7 separate regions of the Homo sapiens genome follow, and regions 2, 3, 4, 5, 6 and 7 are each linked to region 1. The links are contacts of gene promoters, found by promoter capture Hi-C in blood cells and fetal thymus (Javierre and others, 2016). All regions are on one chromosome and are shown on one strand. Each heading gives the region's core, a stretch centred on a gene start or on the middle of the fragment in contact. The rest is flanking DNA. Distances are from core to core; before and after follow the strand shown.

The links. Contacts are between HindIII fragments. The CHiCAGO score rates a contact against its expected background, and 5 or more counts as called.
Region 2: a contact is called between a fragment that was not itself captured here and the fragment with the promoter of PNPLA4 in region 1, in 1 of 17 cell types (erythroblasts). The highest score is 5.3, in erythroblasts.
Region 3: a contact is called between a fragment that was not itself captured here and the fragment with the promoter of PNPLA4 in region 1, in 1 of 17 cell types (naive B cells). The highest score is 6.2, in naive B cells.
Region 4: a contact is called between a fragment that was not itself captured here and the fragment with the promoter of PNPLA4 in region 1, in 1 of 17 cell types (M2 macrophages). The highest score is 5.6, in M2 macrophages.
Region 5: a fragment that was not itself captured here is called in contact with the fragment with the promoter of PNPLA4 in region 1 in 1 of 17 cell types (naive B cells); the score reaches 5.6 in naive B cells.
Region 6: a contact is called between a fragment that was not itself captured here and the fragment with the promoter of PNPLA4 in region 1, in 1 of 17 cell types (M2 macrophages). The highest score is 5.1, in M2 macrophages.
Region 7: a fragment that was not itself captured here is called in contact with the fragment with the promoter of PNPLA4 in region 1 in 4 of 17 cell types (total CD4 T cells, naive CD8 T cells, non-activated CD4 T cells and 1 more); the score reaches 7.5 in total CD4 T cells.

The regions. Positions count from the first base shown.
Region 1 is chrX:7,926,111-7,928,680 of GRCh38, forward strand. It overlaps PNPLA4 (patatin like domain 4, phospholipase and triacylglycerol lipase), which reads right to left and starts at 1,303. Exons shown (of 7, transcript NM_004650.3): 1 at 1,176-1,303; 2 at 1-22. The coding sequence starts at 9. LOC107985675 (a long non-coding RNA gene) reads left to right here and starts at 1,390. Exons shown (of 5, transcript XR_001755784.2): 1 at 1,390-2,570. RefSeq lists a silencer at 1-32 and enhancers at 9-58, 721-950, 1,181-1,420, 1,441-1,490, 1,831-1,910. The HindIII fragment of the contact is 3,086 bases long and covers 1-1,931 here.
Region 2 is chrX:7,051,167-7,053,736 of GRCh38, forward strand. All of the region lies in intron 3 of PUDP (pseudouridine 5'-phosphatase), which reads right to left. Among named protein-coding and RNA genes, the nearest start is that of STS, 95 kb to the right of the region's middle. The HindIII fragment of the contact is 1,338 bases long and covers 619-1,956 here.
Region 3 is chrX:7,091,263-7,093,832 of GRCh38, forward strand. All of the region lies in intron 2 of PUDP (pseudouridine 5'-phosphatase), which reads right to left. Among named protein-coding and RNA genes, the nearest start is that of STS, 55 kb to the right of the region's middle. The HindIII fragment of the contact is 5,428 bases long and covers 1-2,570 here.
Region 4 is chrX:8,746,394-8,748,963 of GRCh38, forward strand. No RefSeq gene overlaps it. Among named protein-coding and RNA genes, the nearest start is that of ANOS1, 16 kb to the left of the region's middle. The HindIII fragment of the contact is 4,113 bases long and covers 1-2,570 here.
Region 5 is chrX:7,115,609-7,118,178 of GRCh38, forward strand. All of the region lies in intron 1 of PUDP (pseudouridine 5'-phosphatase), which reads right to left. Among named protein-coding and RNA genes, the nearest start is that of STS, 31 kb to the right of the region's middle. RefSeq lists enhancers at 246-747, 422-531, 748-1,247. The HindIII fragment of the contact is 1,488 bases long and covers 558-2,045 here.
Region 6 is chrX:8,723,111-8,725,680 of GRCh38, forward strand. The region is part of intron 1 of ANOS1 (anosmin 1); the gene reads right to left. Among named protein-coding and RNA genes, the nearest start is that of ANOS1, 7.7 kb to the right of the region's middle. The HindIII fragment of the contact is 964 bases long and covers 801-1,764 here.
Region 7 is chrX:7,161,365-7,163,934 of GRCh38, forward strand. The region is part of intron 1 of STS (steroid sulfatase); the gene reads left to right. Among named protein-coding and RNA genes, the nearest start is that of PUDP, 14 kb to the left of the region's middle. The HindIII fragment of the contact is 1,202 bases long and covers 692-1,893 here.

The DNA.
Region 1 (2,570 bases), core at 53-2,552:
GTGCTTCATTCTAGCTGTAGCACTGGCAATACAAAAAACAAAAATGCTGTAAGTTGGAATAGTTTATCCCACATACTGTGTAGTCTTATGTTGATCATCGTTCCAAGGCTTTCTTCTAACATCATTCTCTGTTTTAAGCACAGTGGTTTCAATTAATTCTAATTAAACACAAGAATCTTTCAAGGAAACCCTTTCTTTCCCTCCTCACCTTGACCCAAGTCTTATACATTAAAACAAAACAAAACAAAAACATTCCACATTTATTCGGTACATAGATTATGAATCTACGATTTAATTACTTGGCAGGAAACAGACGTATAAATTCCAGTTGACAAGGGCATTTGGTCTTTTCTCTTGACCCTTTGAAACGTTTTGCGGGTGGGGGCGGCACTACCATTATGAAACAGAAAATTATTAGAGACCGTATCAAATTCCAAATGAACAATACATTTGTTCTTGGTAAGTGTATCAGAAGATTTCAAATACAGTTCCCTACTCCCCTTCCCAATTTCTATTGTGAGCACCCATGCTTTTATGAACGCCAATACAATTACTCAGTAACGCAATAAGCAATCACTCAACAATGCAATACATTTCTTTGCCAAGTATCTCAACACAAACTGAGGTCATGCCTGGTGAAGGCAATTTAAGGCTCTATGAAATGTCAGCCACGCCACTTTATACTTGGAACACATCTAAATACAAAATTACATGTTTTCCTATGCCTCAGTGCGCACAATTTGCCCAAGTGAATGAAATTGTGCCTCCACAAGGCTGTCCATTCTGAAGGTCTCAGGGTTTCCTTGGGGGCCCAAGGGCCCCATTCAGGGACCCCAAGATGAGGCACATTACAGGGCCTCGAATTTAGGGACCTAAGACCGCCTGTTCCTGATGCACCCGGCCAGGCCCTGTGAGGGCAGGTGGCTCGGCCGCCGCAGGCTGCGCTGGCGTCCGCGTAGGCTGAGTCCCAGTCATCGATCCGGGGTCAAGCCCCAGTTTTGATTCCACTTCTGCAAATGGGGACGGGAAGGGGGTTGGGTGTGTAGCAACCAGGCGGCCAGGCCCAGCCAGCACAGGCTCAGTGCCCTCCCGCGGCTTGGAGGCCGGCAGGGCCGGGGTGGTCCCCGCATCAGTCCCGCAGGAGCACACCCTTGCTGGGCCCCAGGGCTCCGTACCAATGCAGCCCCGGGACACTTCCGTGTTGAACGAGTCCCTTTAACCAGATGGCGGGGCCGGGCCGTCACTCAACGCCATTCCGCCACCAAGGCCGCGCTACGCTCTCCGCGAGCCGGCCCAGGAAAGTCCTGCGGCAGGGGTTGGTACCGCCTCCCGCGCAGGTATGTGACGTCATCGCGCCGACGAAGGCGCCCGCTAGGCCCCGCCTGCTCTATTTAAACTTCTGGACTCAACCTGGCCGCTAGACCGGAGCGTCCTCCAGCGCAGGCAAGGATTCCTCGTTTAGAGTCATGTTATCTTCGAGTACCTAGAGAGACATTTTAACCCACACCCTAGAGAGGCGTTGTAATCCTTACGTGTCTTTTAACGCTACTTGGCCCTTACCTGCGAGCAACTGACCTTTAATAATCCTCATTTTCTGTGCCCCGGAAGTGCCTTACCCTCTTCGCGTCTGTTTCCCGGAAGTGGTTCTTCTCCCTCTCCACCCTTTCGCCCGCCTGGGCGGTCCAGCTGCCCCTAGGGGCCAACTCCAGCGGCTATTTTGGGGCTGGACATCCCGCAGCTTTTCAAGGCGTGCCTTTGGTTTTTTTAAGAAGTGCTATCTAAAGGAAAAGCTGGACTATGACTCTGGGGAACTTTCATATCCTCAGTTGACCTTAGGCTGTGTGACCTTGAGCAGGTAGCATAACCTCTCTGAGTTTCCCGCGTGCCTTATGTGCAGATTGAGATGCTAAAATGAGAGAGCTAAATTGGAAAGCTTTTTCCACATAGGGGGCCGTGAGCAGGTGGCTGTTTTGTCCTCTGGCACCTTTGGCTCAGACTTAAGCAGCTTCAACGACCGCCAAGATGCCTGCCATGCCCACCAAGATTTAAAGGACTCTGATAATTCTTTCTCTCCCCAAACGGTGTTTTCCTTATCTAATCCTAATAACCAAGCCTGGAGGAATCCCTGACTTCGTGATTGAAGGCTCTCCAGGTCCCCTAGTTTAAGGGCAGAGATTTACTTTCTCTGAGGCTACAAAGGAGCGTCTGCGAGAATGTCTCTACCTTAGACAAAACAGGGAGGAGGGGTGGAGCTCTCCAAATTGCCTCTGGTTTGGGCTTTTTCTTTCTGTTTTGGTGTATCGTCTCTGGCCAACAACACCTGTGAGTCCTTGATGTGACGATTAGGGAAGATGTTTTTAATTCACATAACTATTCTTTAGAGAAAATTGATCCTGAAACACCTTATTGCCTTATCGTAGAATGACTGCATTACTCAGAATTCTTTACCTCTACCGGAATTTAGTGAAGGGAAGGCACAACGTACATTAGGAAAATACAGGACACACTCCAGTCCTTAAACCTTCCACAATCTTCTAGCTCTTTAAGGTCGAGTGTGATCCTCCCCAGAA
Region 2 (2,570 bases), core at 38-2,537, 870 kb before region 1:
AGCGGATAAAGAAAATGAGGCATATATACACCATGGAATACTACTCAGACATAAAAAGGAATGAAATAATGTCTTCTGCAGCAACATGGATGGAGCTGGAGGCCATTATTCTAAGTAACTCAGGAATGGAAATCCAAATATCGTATGCTCTCACTTATAAGTGGAATCTAAGCTATGAGGATGGGAAGCCATAAGAATTCTATATAATGCATTTTGGGGACTAGCGGGGTGAGGAAGAAAAGACTACATACTGGGTACAGTGCACACTGTTCGGTTGACGTGTGTGCTAAAATCTCAGAAATCACTGCTAAAGAACTTATCCATGTAACCAAAAGCCACCTGTACCCTACAGACTATTAAAATAAAAATTAAAATTAAAAAGGAAAAAAATAAAGTACTAAAAGAAAAACCAATACATAAAATGGGGTGTTTGTACACTGCATTTATCAGTGAGCTCCTAAAGGTGCCACCACATTGACAATGTTACAGTAAGTTTCACATGAGGGCTCCCTCCAAAGGAGACACCCCAGAGCCTGCTCCATAGTATAAACAAGCATAATCCACATGTGCTATCTTCATATCACCGACCCTCTCAGGAAGACATACACTTAGGAAGGAAGCTTCTTCCCTGCATTCCTAGAATGGCACACACTTCATGTGAAAACAGATGTACTGATGCTTTTTAACTGAGACTCTGCAGAGGCCCAGACATCTGTAAGGGAAGAGAGGTCCTCGCCATGGCGACCTATGCTGAGGAGTCTCCCCTGCTCTTCTCCACATGTGGCCTAGAACTCCAGGAGTTGTTGAGGTGGGGCCTTTCAGCTCTCCACTCATCTCTTCTTTGTCTCCTTTGTCCCTCTGCATTTTCTTTTTTTTTTTTTGGTGAGACAGAGTCTTGCTCTCTCACCCAGGCTGAAGTGCAGTGGTGCGATCTTGGCTCACTGCAGCCTCTACCTCCCAGGCTCAAGCAATTCTCATGCCTCAGCCTCCCAAGCAGCTGGGACTACAGGCATGCATCACCAAGCCGGCTAATTTTTTTTTGTATTTTTCAGTAGAGACAGGGTTTCACCATGTTGGCCAGGCTGGTCTCCAACTCCTGGACTCAAGTGATCTGCCCGCCTCGGCCTCCCAAAGTGCTGGGATTACAGGTGTGTGCCACCACACCTGGCCCCCTTTGCCTTTCATTATGAAAATGTCCTCTTCGGCTCATCACCAGGTATATAGCAGCGACTCAATGCACTGGTGTCCTGGAAAGGGCTCACGGAAGCCTGATGCCAGGTCTGAAAGAGAAGCTCTGCATTCTTTGGCGTTTTCAGTAGAAAACACTGAAACACACACACAGTCTTAACTACTAGTGGTCTGTGCTGTAGCCAGCACAATGACTTTTTTCTTTTTCCCTCCCTCCCTTTTTCTTTCCATTACCCCATTCTTTCCTTCAATCTGGGGCTAAAATATCATATTAGCCAACTTATCCCAACAGGGCTGAACCCTGGATTAAGTGAGTTAATCCATGTGACAATGGAATGTGAATGCTACCTTACTTTCACAGAGGGAACTTGGTTGGCCCAGCTGTTTCGGTTTGCTTGGAACTGAAGGGTCAGCTGTGGGGCAGGATGTTCCGTGCTACACCCTGGACAGTCCCAGGCAAGCCACAGTAGTCCGTCCCAACACCTCCCTTCCAACAGCCTCTGATGCCCCCTGGTTTCTTTCTCCTGTGAGACACTGGTCACCGTAGGACGCGAGAAGAAATGACTCCACTTAGACTGTCCAAGTTGGTTTTCTCTGTTATCTCATTCAGTGACTACCTGTTCATGATATTTCTGCCCTTGCCTTTTTAAAAGTTATGACTTGATTGTATTCTAAATGCCCTCCACTGTTTTTATCTGGGACCAGAGATAGGCACTTAAATGTCAAATGACATTTCAAAATATCCGTCACCTTCTCCGGGGATTCTGAAGCTTTGTGCAGGGTCCACCTGTGAAATGTGGACTGGGGTAGAGGAAGAGATGGATTATCCCCTGGGGTAACACTGCTTGGCTAAGTTGTGAAAGCAGCTTTTATTCTCTATTTGCGTGAGGCTGCTTCCAAGGAGCAAGACAGGTGTGTGGGACGGGAAATCAGTAGCTGACTGTGGCTGTTCCCAAAGAGATAATGGAAGGCACCCAATACACCTGCACTCACCTAAAGGGGGTCATACAGTTTTGCTGTGTCCCTACTCAAATCTCATCTTGAAATGTAGCTCCCAGAATCCCCACGTGTTGTGGGAGGGACCTGGTGGGAGACAATTGAATCATGGGGGCAGTTTTCCCCATACTATTCTCATGGTAGTGAATAAGTCTCACAAGATCTGATGGTTTTATAAGGGGAAACCCCTTTCGCTTGGCTCTTATTCTCTCTCTTGCCTGCTGCCATGCAAGACATACCTTTCACCTTCTGCCATGATTGTGAGGCCTCCTCATTCATGTGGAACTGTGAGTCCATTAAACCTCTTTTTCTTTGTAATTTACCCAGTCTTGGGTATGTCTTTATCAGCAGTGTGAAAATGGACTAATACAGGGGGTCTGCAGTGG
Region 3 (2,570 bases), core at 24-2,523, 830 kb before region 1:
GGTAACTCAGGTCTCCTAGGTTTCACTAGAATGTGGAAAGCTCTGGAAACTCAAAGGGAAGGCACATTTAACTGGACTTTTTATTCGTTCTTTTTAAGACAGAGTCTCACTCTGTCACCAGGCTGGAGTGCAGAGGCATGATCTCAGCTCACTGCAATCTCTGCCTCCCTAGTTCAAGCAATTCTCCTGCCTCAGCCTCTCAAGTAGCTGGAACTACAGGCGCCCGCCACCATGCCCAGCTAATTTTTTTTGTATTTTTATACAGACAGGGTTTCACCATGTTGGCCAGGCTGGTCTCGAACTCCTGACCTCAAGTGATCCACCTGCCTTGGCCTCCCAAAATGCTGGGATTACAGGTGTGAGCCACCGCGCCCGGCCTTAAATGGACTTTTTCTTTCATTGGCTTTCTTAAGATCTGGAGAACCTGACCAACTATCTCAAAATACTGACCATCCTCAGAAAAATATTTGATTTTGTGTCTTCTTTGATTTGCCAGAAAGCTGCTTACAGTACTAATTTCATTTACTTTGAATCACTTTTCGGGTTGCTACTTCTAAGGATCTATCACTACAAAATAAATGTATAAAACAGCTATTTAAATAGCTTATGATTAATAGCCAAAGGAAAAGATACAAACTAGGAAATGTTAACATAATAGCTCATTCAATTTTCCTGATTTTCTACTATAGCTCTCTACGTGATTAAACAATGTAAATTCTCTTACCTAAACAAGCACAAGTATTATAAAACCCAATCTGAAGAAGGCATTTAACTCATCGTAGAGAATGCCATACCTGAGGTTCTCAATAAAAGCAGCCTGGTAATGGCCTACAAGGCCAGGGTCAAACTTCTCCTTCTCCGTTTCACTTCTCTGAACCTGTATCCTCACCTACATAATGCAAATAAGAACAACCCTGACTACGTCACAAAACAAACATAAAAGTGCAAATGATATAAAGATTGGGAAAGAGTTTCAGTTTTCAATTTCTTCACAAATAAGAGGTAACAGAAAAGTATTCTTCTTTTAAATAACTCACATCAAAAATGGATTCATTTTGCCTTATGCATTCAACAATAAGACAAAAATAACAGAATACTTTAAGTTATAGTAATCCCAAACTAATTTTAAAGTTCTTAACCTAATTTGTGGACTACTTACTATAAAATATCATAGTTTCCTATTGTCAATTTTTTTTTGCAAATATTTCATAGAAATTTCAGTTTTATGGCTAGAGCTTTGTTGTGAGGAGTTTCTGTTGATGGTGTCTCTGTCAATAGTCTCAAATATTAAAGTCTTGCTCTTACAGTCTACTCTCTAAGGAATCCTCTAGAAAGGAGAGAGTAAGACTTTCCCTGTATTCTTGTGTCTACCATGCTATGGAGATGAAAGGTCCCACCGTATAGAAGTGGTGCAGAAACCACCTCAAGAGAGTAGGCGTGGTGCGAGGTACTCCTGACCTCACTCAAACCTGCCCATGACACTGGGCCCAAGTCCCCATGACCCAGGTGCTTGGGGCGTATGAGAGACACCTGTCTTCCCTGATAAGAGTGTATGATTCTGTTGGGGATAAGGAGATGCACTTATCCACAACACTTATGTGAAAAACCACATTTGTGTCTACTCACTACAGGCTTTCTACCTCATCTGCACAGGAGCTTTGCCAAAACACAACTCCAAAATCCTTGAATGGCTTCTTGCCATTTGAAAAAGAATAACTATTGTTGTATGTGGTAAAACACCTACAATATAAAATGTACTGTTTTAATGATTTCTCAGTGTACAATTCTGTGGCATTCAGTACATTCACATTGTTGTACAGCCATCACCACCATCCATGTCCAGAACGTGTTCATCTCCCCAAGGTGAAACTCTGTCCCCATTAAATGCTAAAACCTCCATCCCCCTCCCCCAGCCCCTGGCAATCACAATTCTACTTTCTGCCTCTATGGATTTGACAACTCTAGGGACATCATACTGAAGCAGGAGAATAGGGTCTGGAGGCAGGGAACCGAAAGCTGATTCATGCTGACTTCCCAGAACTCAATCAAAAGGAAAACCCCAACTTTCCATGCCCAAGTAACAAAAGGACTGGATGCTATTCCCTTTGCAAGCCTCTCCTACCTTCTCTGTGTGGCAGATGGAAAACTGAAAGTATTTCTCATTGGTTGCTTTGTGCAACCATTTCTACTACTGGCGCCAGGAGGCTGTGAGCGGGTGCTGGGACTCGGGGCAAGCTGGCAGCGCTCTACACCTGGATGCTCACCTAAAAGTCACTGCCCTCCCCACTCCCTCGTCCTGACTGCAGTGTGCAGAGAGTGCTGGCACCTAACACCCCTCAAAGCCTGTCTGTGCAGCTCCACAGTGCTGTCCTATGCTGTGAGCACACCCCTCCCGGAGGGACAGTGACTTGATTCAACCCATTGTGGTCATTTATCTACTCATTTCCTCTCCTTTGAATCGAGAGGTCCTTGAGGTAAGGATTTCTCTTGTTCATTATCCTATACTCCTAAAGACTTAGAAATCCACAGGAGAACCACCACACATTTAGAAACAGAAACTGGGCCAGGTG
Region 4 (2,570 bases), core at 35-2,534, 820 kb after region 1:
CATTCACAATTGCAAAATTGTGGAACCAACCCAAATCAATCAACAAGTAGATAAAGAAACTGTGATATATATATGATGGAATACTATGCAGCCATAAAAAGCAATGAATTAACAGCATTTGCAGTGCCCTGGATGAGATTGGAGACTATTATTCTAAGTGAAGTAACTCAGGAATGGAAAACCAAACATTGTGTGTTCTCACTGATATGTGGGAGCTAAGCTATGAGGACGCAAAGGCATAAGAATGAGGCTGGCCTTCTGTGGAGCTCACTGTGCCTGTCTGCAGGGAGGGAATGCCTTTCTTTATAGTTTTTCACTCTCCTGGGAGACACGGATTTCAGGATCAGCATTATATGCATAATGTTCAAAATAAAATGGGCCAAATGAGATCACATAGGAGTAAGTGTGGGTATAAAACAGCTATAAGGAGATTTCAGAGGATTTTAAAAGGCACCACAAGCTAGAAAAATAGTTACTACAATAATATGTCTTTCCTTATATCTACAGGTTGGTGAGCTCTGGAATGTGCAGACGGGTAATTTGGGCAAATTTTAAGTAATGCAATATTGGGAAGTAATATGTGGGAAATCTCTCTGTGTCAGTCATTTGAGGTTTTCTGCTACTTTTATTGAATTGTATTCTTTTATCTCTGTTAAGACTCATTTACTTTCCAATTACTTGGGTGAGTTTCAGGAGAGACTCCTGTTAAATGTGCTTTTTAAATGCTATTGGGAGACTATTCAGTAATATGATAAGTCAACTTCTGTTTATTTCTAACTTCGTAACTAATTCCGGGAAAGTTCTGAGCACATGGTGGGGAGAGACGGAGAGAGACGGAGAGAGACAGAGAGAGAGAGAAAGAGAGAAAGAGACGGGGGTGGAGAGAGAGAGAGAGATAATACTTGCACCACTGTAATTAAAGTGAAGGGAAGTGAATAAGAATCCAAGTAAAAAAGCAGACTGTTTAAGTTCAAACCACAGCTAATTATTCTTCTTTTTTTTTTATTATACTTTAAGTTTTAGGGTACATGTGCACATTGTGCAGGTTAGTTACATATGTATACATGTGCCATGCTGGTGAGCTGCACCCACTAACTCGTCATCTAGCATTAGGTATATCTCCCAATGCTATCCCTCCCCCCTCCCCCCACCGCTAATTATTCTAAAAGCGATTTTAAAATTCTCAATCCACAGGCATTTTTATGTGCTGAGTTTTATTGTTGTTGTTGTTGTTGTTCTTTGTTTGTTTGTTTTTTGAGATGCAGTCTCGCTCTGTCATCCAGGCTGGAGCGCAGTGGCGTGATCTCAGCTCACTGCAGCCTCCGCCTCCTGGGTTCAAGCGATTCTCCTGCCTCAGCCTCCTGAGCAGCTGAGATTACAGGCAGGTGCTACCACATCTGGCTGATTTTTGTATTTTTTGGTAGAGATGGGATTTTTCCATGTTGGCTAGGCTGGTCTTGAACTCCCAGCCTCAAGTGATTCGCCTGCCTCAGCCTCCTAAAGTGCTGAGATTACAAGCACCTTGCTCGGCAAGTGCTGGTTTCTAATTACAGATAAATTATAATGGCTTTGATTTAGACTTGCAATCTCACACACTAACAGCATGAAATACTACATAAGGTGAACTATTATTATTATTATTATTATTAGCTTGCCTCTCTGATGAGTCACTGAAATATTCACTATAAAGAAATGGACTTAGAACTTGAAGGTTGCCACAAAGTTGTCAAAACAAAGAAGGAAATACTTTTATTATATTCCAAAACTTTCTTTTCTGTTTTTTAATGTGGATTTTTCTTTAAGTGAAAGAAAATCTTCTTTTATAAAATATAAACAAGTACATAGGAACTTATGGAGTAATGACAGCTGTTAAATTCTGGTTTAAGTTGGAGAATTGTGTCATTTTATTTGTGGATACTTTTAGTGTGGATAAGATAAATCAACTGTGGGTGGTTTTGAGTTCCTGCATTATTTTATTTATTTATTTATTTTGAGACGAAGTCTTGCTCTGTTGCCCAGGCTGGAGTGCAGTGGTGCGATCTCGGCTCACTGCAAGCTCCGTCTCCCGGGTTCACGCCATTCTCCTGCCTCAGCCTCCCGAGTAGCTGGGACTATAGGTGCCCGCCACACTAATTAGCCCGCCGGGCTAATTTTTTGTATTTTTAGTAGAGACGGGGTTTCACTGTGTTAGCCAGGATGGTCTCGATCTCCTGACCTCGTGATCTGCCCACCTCGGCCTCCCAAAGTGCTAGGATTTCAGGCGCGAGCCACCGCGCCCGGCCTACATTATATCATTTAAATGGGTGCTGCTCAATGCTAAAAACTATTAGGAATTTTAAAATGCAGAGGCCTAGGCCCTACTGCGAGACATCCACATTTAATTGGTCTGGGGTGGCTTTGGTGTCAGTATTGTTTAAAGCACCTTGGTGATTTGAATGCCTCCAGGTTAGAGAATCAACAAGAAGAATACTTTTCCCTAAATTCAAATAGTAGATTTCAGAAAAGTCCTGGTAATTGGATTAAAATAATGGGAAACTCATGGTTTCTCAACATCAACCCCATTGACGTTT
Region 5 (2,570 bases), core at 52-2,551, 810 kb before region 1:
CTGGGGTTGCCTTGGGCTTTTTTTGACCTTCTTAACCAGCCAAGCTTACTTAGTAATCCCTAGAACCCTAACAGCAAAAACTGTTCTGAAAGGTCACTGTGGGCAACAGCTGTTTCACATTGCTCTCTATGCTCCTGGCACACAGCACAGAGCCCAGATCCTGTCGGCAGCGCTATTTCACTTCACTCCCAGAGTCACGTCCACGCACGTGGCTGCAAGGGGGAGCTGGCCTAAGCCTGCAGTGAGGAGTGAGGCCAAACCACACCACCTCTTTGCATGGACTGGAAGAGTCTATCTGCTCAAAGCATCCTAGTGTCATAGGAAGGCATTATTACATTTGCGGGAAGACAAGAGAAGCCCACGAAAAGACCAGATTCTGGTAAATGAGGAGGCACTGAGTTAAGTTATAAAGATAACTGTCCATGTGTGAAGGTAAATGAAAATCTCTTCAAATGAGAACGAGCAGAGGCTATTCATTCAGAGATTGCATAGCAAGAAAGTTGGACACCAGCACTTGCCTTTGGCAGAAGCTCAAATGCAGGTTGGGGAGCTGGGAAAGCTTTACAGTTGGAAAAGGGAGGCTTCAGGTGGGCCCTGACTGGAGGCTGTTGTGGGGGCTGGGGGTGGCTCACTAGAAGTGAGGCATCTCATGGGATTGGCTTGGGAAACATTTTGGCTCTCTGGCTGGCGGTGGAAACTCTGTAGGCATGCCTGAGACAATCAAGTCCCTTAAAGGAGATAAGTCATTGAGCTGGCCAAGGACCCTGGGCTGCCGACTAGACTCATGGGATGAGTGTGGCTGCCCTCCTACCCTGGCCTGCCTCCTGGTTTCTTCCCAGCCACCTTGGCCATCCGTTAGCAAACCCCTAGCATGTTCCCAGGTGGATGGTGGGCCAGGCACTTCTCTCTGGGCCCTGGGACCCCTGCCCTGCTCAGCCTCATTCACCATTCTATATTCCACAGGCACTCCTGCATCCCTTACCACATGCCCTTGCCCAGCCTTTGGTAATGACCAATCAGAATGAACTAATCTCCATGCCCCCTCTACGCCAAAAAGACCCTGCATCAGGTCAGTGTTTATGAGGAGAAACTGCATTGGTCAGTAATAGAGTTTATATATTTATTCCCTCCCAAATCTCATGCTGAATTGTAGCCCTCAATGTTGGAGGCAGGGCTTGGTGGGAGGTATACTGATCATGGGGGCAGATCCTTCGCTTGGGCCATCCTCCACTTGGTGATCAGTGAGCTCTTGCTCTGAGTTCACATGAGAGCTGGTGGTTTAAAAGTGCATGGTACCTCCCCCCAACTCTCTCTCTGGCTCATGCTTTTGCCATGTTACATGCCTGCTCCTGCTTACCCGTCCACCGTGATTGTAAGCCTCTTGAGGACTCCCCCGAAGCAGCTGCCACTATGCTTCCTGTATAACCTGCAGAAATGTGAGCCAATTAAACCGTTGTTCTTCTAAATTATCTAGACTCAGCCATTTCTTTAAGGCAATGCAAGCACGGCCTAATACAGAAAATTGGTACCAGAAGTGGCGTGTTGCTACAAGGATACCTGAAAATATGGAAGTGACTTTGGAATTGGGTAACAGGCAGAGGTTGGAAGAGTTTGGAGGGCTCAGAAGAACACAGGAAGATGAGAGAAAAGTTGCAGCTTCCTAGAGAACAGTTAAATGGTTGTGATCAAAATGCTGATAGTGATATGGATGGTGAAGTCCAGGCCAACAAGGTCTCACATGGAAATGAGAAACTGAGAACTGGAGGAAAGGTCACACATGTTATTTCTTAGCAAAGAACTTGGCTGCATTCTGTTCATGCCCTAGGGTTCTGTGGAAGTTAGAACTTCAGGGTAATCCTTTAGGTTATCTAGCAGAACAAATTTCTAAGCAGCAAAGCATGCTATGTGTAACCTGGCTTCTTCTAACAGACTACGCTCAGATGCAGAAGCAAAGAAATGACAAAGTTGGAAGTTATATTTAAAGGGAAGGTAGAGCAAAAAAGTTTAGGAAATATGCTGCCTGGCCATGTGGCAGAGAACGAAAAAGCTTTTTCAGGAGAGGAATTCAAGCAGGCTGTGGAGCAACCACTTGCCAGAGAAATTTGCATATCTAAAAAGGAGGGAAGTGCTGACACCAAAACAGTGGGGGAAAGGTCTCACAGGTATTTCAGAAGTCTCCAAGGCAGCCTCTCTCATCACAGGCCCAGGGGCCTAGAAGAGAAGGGTGGTTTCCTGAGCCACGCCCAGGGCCCAGCTGCCTCAGGACACTGCTCCCCTCATCCCCACTGCTCCTGCTTCAGCCAGGGCTCAAAGGGAGCTCATCCTGGTGCTCTGTAGGCACACAAGCCACACGCCTTAGTGGCTTGCTTTCTGTATAGCCTACAGAATTGTGAGCCATTTAAACCCATTTTCTTACAAATTACGTGGACTCAGGCATTTCTTTATAGCAATACAATATGTCCTAATACAATCAGGAAACTTTAACACAGTCTGGAGAACTGTCACACTTATGTGGGCTTGGATGCTGACATATTTGGGTTTTACCCTTTGCTCTATTCTCAAGGCCTGCC
Region 6 (2,570 bases), core at 33-2,532, 800 kb after region 1:
AGATAACATTGGAATAACCCTTTGAGACACTGGCTTAGGCAAAGATTTCATGACCAAATACCCAAAACCAAACACAACAAAAACAAAGATAAATAGGTGGGACTTAATTAAACTGAAGAGCTTTTGCGCGGCAAAAAGAACAGTCAGCAGAGTAAACAGACAACCCACAAAGTGGGAGAAAATCTTCACAACCTATACATCTGACAAATAACTAATATCCAGAATCTACAAGGAACTCAAACAAATCAGCAAGAAGAAAAAACAAGCAATCCCATCAAAAAGTAGGCTAAGGACATAAATAAACAATTCTCAAAAGAAGATATACAACTGGCCAACAAACGTATGAAAAACATGCTCAACATCACTAGTGATCAGGGAAATGCAAATAAATCAGTACTTTTTAAAGAAAGAAACAGATTCAGCACCTATGCAGACAGTGATTTACATGAAAACAATCTACAAATGCTACATTTGTTCCTTTCTGGGCATTTTTTACATATTGGCTAATAAGTATAACTATTTTTATCCAACCCTCTTTACCATCAGGGAAAATGTCTCCCCTCACCTCTTTGAAACCATACACAAATTACATTTTTAAAATATACAAAGGATTGCAGGTCCTGGAGGATGTAGCTTTTTTGGGGTGTAGCTCCACTAGTTGCATGCTGAGTAAATCCAATGTTGGCTGATACCTGAACTATTGGGGCTCCCTTGCCTTCTTCCTAGACCTGCCATGTAGTACTGTCGTTAATGATGTCCTCTCACTCCAGCTACTGCCCACTTACCCTACAGCTATTTCAAGCTTGCCTGAACAGTGCATATTTTCACATTTCATTGAATTCTCAACAATGAGGGAGCATGATGTGCTTACCTACTAGGTCCAAGAATTGAAATCTTTTTACTGAAGTCATCAGGAGCTAGAAACTAAATTCAAGTAACAGAAAATCTTCTGAATCTGTTTCTTTATTTAAAATGATGTTTAAACTTTGTATACCCTCTCAATTTTTTGAAGGATAGTAAATGAAGTCTTAGCTGAGAGTGTAAAAGCTAACTTATATTTTTACTTATTCTACCTACTAGCTTGAACAGGTCATTTCTATAAGAACCGAGTTGTCTGATCAGAAAAAACAAAAGTGTTGAATGGAACCACGTGTTTCTGAAGGGAGGTGTCTTAGACTGGGTTTCCTAGAAGCAGAGGTTGAAATGGGGTTTCTCGGACATGAGGTAATATTGGGGCGGAGAGAAAAGCTCTCAGTAGAAGAGGGAAGAGAGGAAGCAGGAGAAGGCAGAGATAAGACCTGTGTGGGGATGGGCTCTCAGCCAGAGCCCTGCATAAGCCTGATCCCATGCGATGCTTTTGGGCATGAATTGCATTACAGAGCTGATTCCAGCAGGGGGCTGACCTCCTATATCCCCTGAGCAGAGAGCCAATCGCCATGGTCTGCGCACATCAAGGGAGGAGGATGCATGACCTTGCAAGCAAGATGGTGCCCATCGGCCAAAGGTTATTCCCTTAAAAGGAAGCAGCTGTAAGCTATTAGCAGCTGATACAGGAGCCGGGGGATGGTGGGGTAAGAGGCAAGAGGTCAACAACTGCATCGACTGGAGAAGGAATTGGTGTATATCACCTCTTTTAAAATATTTCAGAAAACTCCCCAAAATGACACATTTTCCTAAGATGATGGTGCAAAGAGAACTAAAATGTCATAACTATTCATTTTATCAATCAGCTCTGGTCATGGGGGCAACCTAATGCTAATCTAAAGCTTGAAAGAGTTATGGCTATCTTTGATTAATGTAAAGAGGAAAAACTAGGTCATACTTAATAAACGCCATATGTTGATAGACAACCTGCTTTCAAAATATGGAGGCCAGGGTAAGTTAAATGGAAAAGTTGAAAGGTAGCTGACTTCAGAACCCTAAGGCTCTGTGAGCTTAGATGATGCCCAGAAATTATGTTATTCTATACTTTACACAAGGCACTGCAAAGAGACATTTTCAGTTATTTCTATTCCTATTTCATAAATAAAAATGCCTTTTGATAATATGGATATGCTTCATTAATTGCTGTCCCAAACCTCTCTTCCCCCCAAAATGGTATGAGAGTCAGGTTTCTGGACAGCAATACCAAGTAATCCATTGGAACTTCTCCATTTCTGACTTAATACAAGCAGTACCCCCTAACACTTTCATAAGTCTCTCTACCTTAACCCCAACATTTTATACTCATTCACTGAAACATACCTGGTAGGTGAGAACATGAAAGGTGGTGAATTTATTTTGAATAAATATGATAACCTCCAAATTTATGATTACATTTTTAAAAGTGGGAACACTTGCACCAACAATATTACCTTTTTAATTTAGGTGTCCAAATACACACATGTGGATAAATAATATTATATACAGATATATATATATATACAGATATATATATACAGATATATATATACAGATATACATATATACAGATATATATATACAGATATATATATACAGATATATATATATACAGATATATATATACAGATATATATACAGATATATATATATACAGATATATATATACA
Region 7 (2,570 bases), core at 43-2,542, 760 kb before region 1:
AAAAGAACTAGGTTAACTGAAGAATGGGTATGTAGTTCAGAGATCAGTTAGTGTTTTCTGAAAATTTATATTAATTGCAGAAAATGAACATCCAAAAACAATTTAACTTTTGCAATGCATGCTGTACATAATCTAGTAATTATGAACCAACCAAATGGATGATTTTTTCCCCAAAGAGAGATGCTAAGAAATTCCTTTGATCTCTTTCAAGTAAACTCTCTGTTATCTTATGAGCAATTATAATGAATTAAGATGTCCAGTTCATGCTTACTTTACTTCTTATCAGAGTATCAACATATTTCATGTACACATCAGTTTTGTCTTCTGTGCCAACCCGAGCAGATTGAGTTGGAGGAATGTTAGAAATAATTTTCACTGAAAATAATATCACTAAAAGTGTTAAAATTATTTTACAGAAAGTTTGCTCCATTTCGTGTCATTTACTGTAGGTACTCTTTGTCTCAAGGAACACATGACAATGCTTTACTGAGTACCCTGTGAGTTGGTATCTATAGTGACATTACTATTTGCCAACTGAGAAATTGCCCCATATTCATTTATAATGAGATTATCACATCACAGCTGATATCAGGAGACAGAAATCTAAAAGCTTTCAGTGCATGAAAAAAAGATAATAATGACTCCTCTTTGCATTAAAAACCTAAATAGTAGATGTTGAGCATCCCTTAAAAGCTTGAATAAAATAAGCATTAAGAGTTTATGGCCAAAAGTCCTAAGCCATGCTTTCTAGACCAGGTTCTGTCACCATTGTTTTGTTTCCATCTTGTCTTCTCCTTAAAATTCGAGCCTTGGTTGGAAATTAACCCCTGTCAAACTTGGCCACTGAGTCAACAAGCACTTCCCCAGTGCCCCAGGGACACAGGTAACAGAGGATGTGGCAATGATGAAGCAGAAGTCCAGTCTCACCTCAGGTGTTTTCTGTGAAGGAAAACAAGCAGTATAAATACTGCAAGTACCAATGTCAATAATAATTAAATGCTTATTATGAGAAGGAAGTGCAGGGCAGAGACTTGGCACAGGGCTAATTAGGAGAAGCACCTTCAACTGTGAGGTCTGGGAGAAAGCCCAGGGGGATGGAACAGAGATGGCTTAGGGTCCCGGGTTCCTCTTGGCGGTTCCAAGACTGGGAGATTTTTAGTTTAGAGATAGAGACTGGGACGTTCTCTTTCACAATGAATTTGTCTATCCAGCGATTCCCCACGGAGGCACTGTTGGTACGTGGGGCTGGGTGATTCCTTGCTGTAGGGGCTATCCAGTGCGTGGTAGGATGCAGCAACCCACAATATCTCCAGATGTTGCCAAATGTCTCCTGGTAGGTAAAATCATCCTCCCGGATGACAATCTCTGGCCTGAAATAAGCATTTAAAATGTGTAAGACTGGCCGGGCGCAGTGGCTCACGCCTGTAATCCCAGCACTTTGGGAGGCGGAGGCAGGTGGATCACGAGGTCAGGAGTTTGAGACCAGCTGGGCCAGCATGGTGAAACCCCGTCTATACTAAAAAAAAAAAAAAAAAAAAAAAAATTAGCTGGGCCTGGTGGCGCGCGCCTGTAATCTCGGCTACTCAGGAGGCTGAGGCAGGAGAATTGCTTGAACCCGGGATGCAGACGTTGCAGTGAGCCGAGATCACACCACTGCACTCCAGCCTGGGCGACAGAGCAAGACTCCGTCTCAAAAAAAAAAAAAAAAAAAAATGCATGAGACAGAGCTTACTTAGAGCAGGGTTTTTCAACCTCAGCACTGCAGACATTTGGGGCTGGGTCACTCTCTGGTGGTGGCTGTCCTGTGCACCATAGGGTGCTGAGCATTATCCCTGGGCTCCACCCAGCAGATGCCAGCAGCACCTCCCACCCACTGCTAAGTTATAACATCCAAGCTTGTCTCCAGATATCACCAGATGTTTCTTGGGTTGCAAAACTGTCTCTTGTGTAGAATCACCAAATTGGAAACAGATAAGAACCGGCATCTGGGATCACAGAAGAGGTGTGGAGATCACTGTTTTGAGTCTGTTCTCAGCTCTTTTTCCAGCTGGCCAGGCAGCTCTGTGTTTTTGCTAGAGCTTGTCACAGCTGGTTTGACCTGGGTCATTGGGCAAGCATTCCCTGGGTCTCAACTTGTCACCTCTTCTGCCTATGAGGAAACTCTGGAGCTATCCACATCCAAGTGACTTGGCCAAGGTTCTGTTCAGCATAGGTGGCTTTTCCAGTACCTGACTTCTCAGCCCACAGGACTTTACCACTTCTTTTCAAATCTTGCCTTCAGAAATGTAGGTTTGCAATCCTTTGTCCATAACCAAAAATAGAAAAGAAAAACATTGAAAACCCAGAGTTTTTCTAACATACTTGGCAGTGACACCAGCTCGAACCAACTAACATAAAACTAACATAAAGTGAAAAGTCTTCATTCATCCCACAGATTGTGGGTATTCATTTTGTTTCACTGCAGAACTTTTTTTAGATAGGGTCTCATTCTGTCACCAGGATGAAGTGCAGTGGCTCGATCTCAGCTCACTGCAATCTCTGCCTCCTTGGTTCAAACAATTCTCCCACCT